2 separate regions of the Homo sapiens genome follow, and region 1 is linked to region 2. The links are contacts of gene promoters, found by promoter capture Hi-C in blood cells and fetal thymus (Javierre and others, 2016). All regions are on one chromosome and are shown on one strand. Each heading gives the region's core, a stretch centred on a gene start or on the middle of the fragment in contact. The rest is flanking DNA. Distances are from core to core; before and after follow the strand shown.

Region 1 (3,269 bases), core at 759-3,258, 2.9 Mb after region 2:
AGGCAGGTCACGAGGTCAAGAGATCAAGACCATCCTGGCCAACATGGTGAAACCCTGTCTCTACTAAAAATACAAAAATTAGTCGACTCACTGCAATCTCTGCCTGCCAGGTTCAGGCGATTCTCCTGCCTCAGCCTGGGACTACAGGCGCATGCCACCACACCCAGCTAATTTTATGTATTTTTAGTAGAGACAGGGTTTCACAGTGTTAGCCAGGATGGTCTCGATCTCCTGACCTTGTGATCCGCCTGTCTCGGCCTCCCAAAGTGCTGGGATTACAGGCGTGAGCCACCGCACCCGGCCTCAATTTTTTTTTTTAATGCCTCCTACAGGGAGAGAATTAAAAGAAATTAGTTGCCCAGTTTCCTTCATCTGTTTTTGTTTTCCTTGCTTCTCTGCAAGGAGGGCTTTTTATTTCATCTACCAGGTAGTATTGAACAATGAATAAAATGGTGATTATTTGTATAATTCAAAGCATTCCCCCACATCCCCTCCCCGCAAATTGAATGCATTTCTTTACCTCTTCCCAAAGTGCTCAGCACAGTCTCTTATATAAAGGCACTTAACGGATACTTTAAAAAATGAATACACGATTTAATGAATGAATTGCTCCCAACATATCCAGAAACTGACTACAAAGTGTTTTTGTTTGTTTTTAATTTGCATTGTCCAAAACAACTGACTCCATTCTCTACCTCCCTTTCCTAACACAGTCATGATCTAAAAGAAACAATCTCTTTTCTGTAGAGCTCTTTAGACGTGCCTGATTTGTATTCTCCAATTAAATTGTAGCCACAAATCTCAACAGGAACTCTGGGTAGATCAAGCAGTAGCAGAGGCACTTTCTGCCAAGAAAACACAGGCTTCAGTTTCAGAGTTCTGGTGTTCCAGTTCTAGATGTAACACCAACTGGTTATATGACCTTAAACAAGTTTCTCGACATGCTTGTGCCTCAGTATAGCTGTCTTTTAAGTGGTGGTGGCGGTGGATTATAATACGTGCTGTACCTACTTCATAGGGTTGTAGTGAAGTTCAAATGAGATAATAAATGTAAAAATGCTTTGAACTTTTCAAAGCACTATGTAAATATAAGGTATTATTATAGGCAAATGTATTTAAAATCAATTATCTAGTTCAAGGGACTTTACCCTAAACAACCTGTTTTACTACTTGTTGTTTCAGAAAGCAAACAGGTTTATCTTTCTCTCTTCCTCTTTCTCCATGCACAGACACACACACACACACACACACACCCTTACTGTTCCCAATTTAACAACTTCTCAGCTTTGAGGATTTTCCCTTGGGTTGGGAAATATGCATATGCCATTTGAATATGAAGAGCCAAGAATTTATAGAATCCTCTCCCTATCCCACCCCCCCAAAATTTACCTTTTTAAAGCTCTCAGACAGAAAAGTAAACTTAATGAAGCACAACAGCCTTTTCAAACTACATAATGTTATGTATTTAATCAGTGGAGTTAGATGAGCCATTCATTTGAAACTTGGCCATGCTGCATACATTTTGATCACCCTTTTATGCCAAGCCAGTCTGGAAAGTACTTGGGGAACAAGGCAGGGAGGACTAACACGGAATTCATGCTAATGAGTTCTCCATTCCCCAAGGAGATATAATCAGGGCAATACTCAAGGATTCGTCAACATATTTTATTAGTACTATGTGACCTATATGGTTTATTTTAAAGGAATTAACCTCAGCTAAATATCTGAAAGATCTTTATACAACTGTTTAAGTAATCAAGCCTGATATATTTCTGAAACTTTAATGAAATATCACCCTTAGGGTCCTCTTTTTTTTTAAGTGTTTGTTCTCATTTATTCATTTTCTATTTGGTAACTTAAAATCATCATGACTAAATAAATATGCAAACAACTGCTACAAATAAGAAACTCCTAGTGGGAGGCCCACTCATATGTAGAACATAAAGACTCATAGAAACTCAACTTAAGGGTCACTAGTTTCCAGCCAGGCACGGTGGCTCATGCCTGTAATCCCAGCACTTTGGGAGGCCGAGGTAGGCAGATCACAAGGTCAGGAGATCGAGACCATCCTGGCTAACACCATGAAACCCCGTCTCTACTAAAAATACAAAAAATTAGCCCGGTGTGGGGGGCGGGAGCCTGTGTTCCCAGCTACTCAGGAGGCTGAGGCAGGAGAATGGCGTGAACCCGGGAGGCAGAGCTTGCAGTGAGCCAAGATTGTGCCACTGCACTCCAGCCTGGGTGACAGAGCGAGACTCCGTCTCAAAAAAAAAAGACTCACTAGTTTCTTTTTGTTTGTTTGTGTTTGAAACGGAGTCTTACTGTGACCTCCACCTCCTGGGTTCAAGCGTTTCTCCTGCCTCAGCCTCCTGAGTAGCTGGGATTACAGGTGCCTGCCACCACACCTGGCTAATTTTTGTAGTTTTAGTAGAAACGAGGTTTCACCATGTTGGCCAGATGGTCTTGAACTCCTGGCCTCGAGCGATCTGCCCACTTCAGCCTCCCAAAGTGCTGGGATTACAGGGGTGAGCCACCACACCCAGCCAAGAATCGCTAGTTTCTATGTAGAAAAACTTTAAAATGAATGCAAAAAATGCAATTGCTATGTGAAACCTAAAATACGTTAGTTGCATATACATCTTTTCATCACATAGTCATATGCCTTCACACTTCAGCTACGAATCTCTAGTATGTTACATGATCTTAAAACCAGGTGTTTTACTTCTTATGACAGTATTTCTAGAAAGTAATCAGGAACTACCTCCAACAGAACCATTTGGAGTGTTTCCTAAAATACTAATTCATAGGCTCTACTCCAAATTTACTGAATTAAATCTTTTAGGATGGGGCCCTGGATTGAGACTTTTTTTAAAAAAAAATCTCTGAATAAAGAAGACGATTGAGGACTTTTTAAGCACCCCAAGTGATTCTCATGTATCACCAGTTTGATCACAGCTATCCTATAGAAACAATGCACTGTGTAGACAGAATCTCAGACATGAGTGAAATGCGGATGGCCCCGTTTCATTATGTGAAAGAGATTCAGATAAGCACAAAACTGGCTACACCTTTTCTGCTGCATAAATGTGTGCAAAATATTTAACCTCTCTGAGTCCTAGTAATTTTTTTTTTTTTTTTTTTGAGACAGGGTCTTACTCTGTCTCTCAGGCTGGAGTGCAGTGGTGTGATTTCAGCTCACCACAGCTTCAATCTTCCGGGCTCAAGCGATCCTCCCACCTCAGCCTTCCTGGTAGCTGGGACTACAGGTG
Region 2 (3,094 bases), core at 375-2,874:
GGACAGAGAGGTCTCCCCAACATCACGAGGCAGCAAACTGAAAGCAAGAACGTGGCGAAGTGCAAACAAATCCAGTCCACAAAAGGCAGAAAAGTTTGGAGAGTTTCGGGCCTCCTGGGCCACGAGCGGGGGAGGGGAGGGAGGGAGGGGAGGAGGCGGGGAGGGGGAGGCGGGGAGGGGGCAGGGCAGGGGCCGCATGCGGGGCCCGGCGGGCGGCGCGGGCGGGCGGGCAGCGGGCGGGGGCCGGGCGCGGAGGCACTTACGGTTCGGGCGGTGGGCGAGAGCGATCCGTTGGGGAGGTAGGGGCTCGTCAGGTCGGGGATCATGATGAAGGGGTAGCCGGGATACGGTGGCCCCTTAAAGAGCCCTCCATCTTGCCTCTTGGCCGCTAACATGGCGGGGCGGCGAGGGGACAGCGGCGGCCGCGCGGAGCGGGAGAGAGTGAGGAGAAACTTTTTAGAAAGTGCCCCGAGGGGCCGGGCGCCCCGACCGGGCCGGCGCAGGGCCAGGCCGAGCCGGGCGCGGGGCCGGGGCGCGCGGGGCGGCCGGCCCGGGGGGCGGCTCCGGGCGGCTGCGGGGCGCGCGGGGCGTACTCACCTTCTTCCAAACTTTCCCGGGATTTGTCTCGGAAACTTTCGGAGCGAGGCGGAGGCCGTCTTTCCGCCTTCCCAGAGGGGTGGAGGTGGGGAGGGCGAGGGGCAAACGCCACGCAGAAGGGGGAGAAGGGGGAGAAAAAGAATCGGCGAGGTCGAGGGGGGGGTAGAAAAAAACAGGGTTACAAGTTTTTGCAATGGTGGCACCGTACGCACACGCCGCCCGCCGGGCCCCGCCGCCGCCCCCAGCCCCGATTTCTCCCCTTTCAGCAACATTTGCCAAGCCCAGGAAACAGATAAAAAACCCCACCAGCCCGAGGGGCTTTTCCTACCTCGGAATCGGAGGAGCTGTTTTGATTCGTTTCTGATTCATTGACTAGAGACGATTTGACATCAGCTAAATCCCTCTCTGCCGAGGAGTTTTCGGAGCTCTTCTCCTCCTGTTCGCCCTCGTCTTTGAAGGAAATCAGTTCGTCGTTGGCGCCTAGGTCATCCCCTCCACCGCCGTTCAGCTGCGGCATTTTTTTTTCACCCACCAGCAGCAATTTTGGAAGAAAAATGAAGGAGGAAGAAAAGCCAAAAAAAATCACCCCCAAAAAGTTTTGCCCCCCCAAAAAATATTGCAAGAAAAAGACGAGTCCAAGGTGAACTTTTTTCTGCTTGGGGGTCTTTTTCTCCTGGGGAGGGGAAAAGAGGGAGGAGGGGAGGGGAAGGGGGGGGAGATCTTCTGCACGCGTGAGTTTGGGTTTCTTTTTTCTCTCGTTCCCAAGGATCCGATCAATGTGCAAAAAAATAATAAATAAAAAAGGGGGGTAAAAAAAAAAAAAACACCAACAACAACAAGAAGTCAGATATAAAGAGCAAAGGGGGGGGGAAGCCGAAGATACAGGAGGTGCTCGTGCCGCTCGGATTTGAGTGAGTTGAAGTTAGACTGAGAGCTTTTCAGTTCAAAGGCGGCGCTGATTGACAGATAGAAAAAGGGGGATCGAAATCCGGAGGAACGGAGTAGTCTGGGAGCGGAGATTATTGACAGGGCGAGAGGAACACACTGCCTTAATGAGATGCCGGAGGGCGGGGCCGGCCCAGTGACGTGTGCATAAATAAACAGCCGGGGTGGGCGGGGCGGGGGCGGCTAACAATGATCCTTTCGGGCGCCGGGAGAGGGAGGAGGGAAAGAAGGAGGAAGAGAGGGGCGGGGAAGCCGGGGGGAGACGGAGGGAGGAGTGTGCAGGGGGAGCGGCCTGCGCGGAGTGTGTGCGAGCCCGGGATTCTGGGCGAGGGTGCAGGGACTTGCTCCGGGAGGGGGCGGTTTCAGAAAGACAATGCGGGGTGGGAGAGGAGGAGAAGGGGGTGGCGACCAAGTCAGGAATCCGAGCCGAGGAAGGCGGAAGGAAAGCCCACTTGGGGGGCGGGGATGGGGAGAGGCCCAAAACAGTGCACTTTAGAAATATTAGAAATAAGTCTTAAGGGAGGGGGAAAAGGAAGGGTAGTATTTGAGAAAGTGGTGGCTGGGGGAGGGGGTGGGGGGGTGCTTGGTGGTTAATTCAGCAGTGAAATCAGCCACCCTTAGACGGGATGCGACAAAAGTGGTCAAAAGGAAAGATCAACCCTCCACTTTCAGAGAGCTTGGGGAAGTGAAGGGGCTGGTCAAAGTTCCTGGTCATCTACAATGAAAGAAACTATTAACCCATGAGGCCTCCCTCCTCCCTTTTTTGTTTATTAGTAGTGAATCATTTCATGAAATGTTAAGTCCCACTAGGATGGATATGCCAAAACGACTTTTTATGCAAAAAACAAATGCTAAATGTCAGAAACATTAAAAGTATCCTTAAGGAAAAATATATGATTCTTTTAAATGTAGAGTGGTGTTTTGCTTTTTTTTTTTTTTTTTTAACTGACGTTGGAGGTAGTAGGAAATGAGCTAGAGTCAAAGTCCTTTTTGACTTAGGAGGTGAAAAGTTTGGGCGTTAACACCGTCAGGGAAAATAAAACTGAAAGTTCACCAACCCCTGGGATCAGTTGGGCTACAGTGTTTCTCGAAGGGGGTCTGAAATGAAATCCCCGAAAGACTGACCAAAATAATCAAGATGTAGGTGGCTCTGGCAGGAAATTGCTAACCAAACCGATGCTAGAAGACCTTCGGGAGAAGATGGGAAACCTGGGGCTTGAGGCAGGTATTTGTTGACTTTTAGGTATTAGAGGAGGAGCAGACTGATTTGCTACAAAATGGGGAATGGAATTATGTTAAAGAGGAAAGACCCAGCTCCCAAAACACAATGTTCCTGGGTGATAGAGCAAGAAAATTCATTTTTGCAAATACCCAGTAAGAAGTAGACTGGACACTACAACATGAAAAAGAGAAAAAAGAAAAAAATAAATCAGTAGGATTTAGCAAATTGCCTCTTAGGAGTAGTATTAGTCTAGAGTCCAGGATGTACTGTTGTCCCACCCTTCCCTGAAAAAGCTCACCTGCACTTCAGCTGGCCCATCAGCACCGAGGT

What was found. The method cuts DNA at HindIII sites, captures the fragments that hold promoters and counts their contacts. A CHiCAGO score of 5 or more calls a contact.
Region 1: a contact is called between a fragment that was not itself captured here and the fragment with the promoter of TCF7L2 in region 2, in 1 of 17 cell types (neutrophils). The highest score is 5.3, in neutrophils.

Annotation. Positions count from the first base shown.
Region 1 is chr10:110,001,287-110,004,555 of GRCh38, reverse strand. All of the region lies in intron 2 of ADD3-AS1 (ADD3 antisense RNA 1), which reads left to right. It also overlaps a transcript of ADD3 not described here. Among named protein-coding and RNA genes, the nearest start is that of ADD3, 5.1 kb to the left of the region's middle. The HindIII fragment of the contact is 7,170 bases long and covers 1-3,269 here.
Region 2 is chr10:112,948,777-112,951,870 of GRCh38, reverse strand. TCF7L2 (transcription factor 7 like 2) reads right to left here and starts at 1,624. Exons shown (of 15, transcript NM_001367943.1): 1 at 926-1,624; 2 at 598-664; 3 at 264-388. The coding sequence starts at 1,114. It overlaps LOC124902502 (a long non-coding RNA gene), which reads left to right. Exons shown (of 2, transcript XR_007062291.1): 1 at 1-93; 2 at 864-1,242. The HindIII fragment of the contact is 8,187 bases long and covers 1-3,094 here.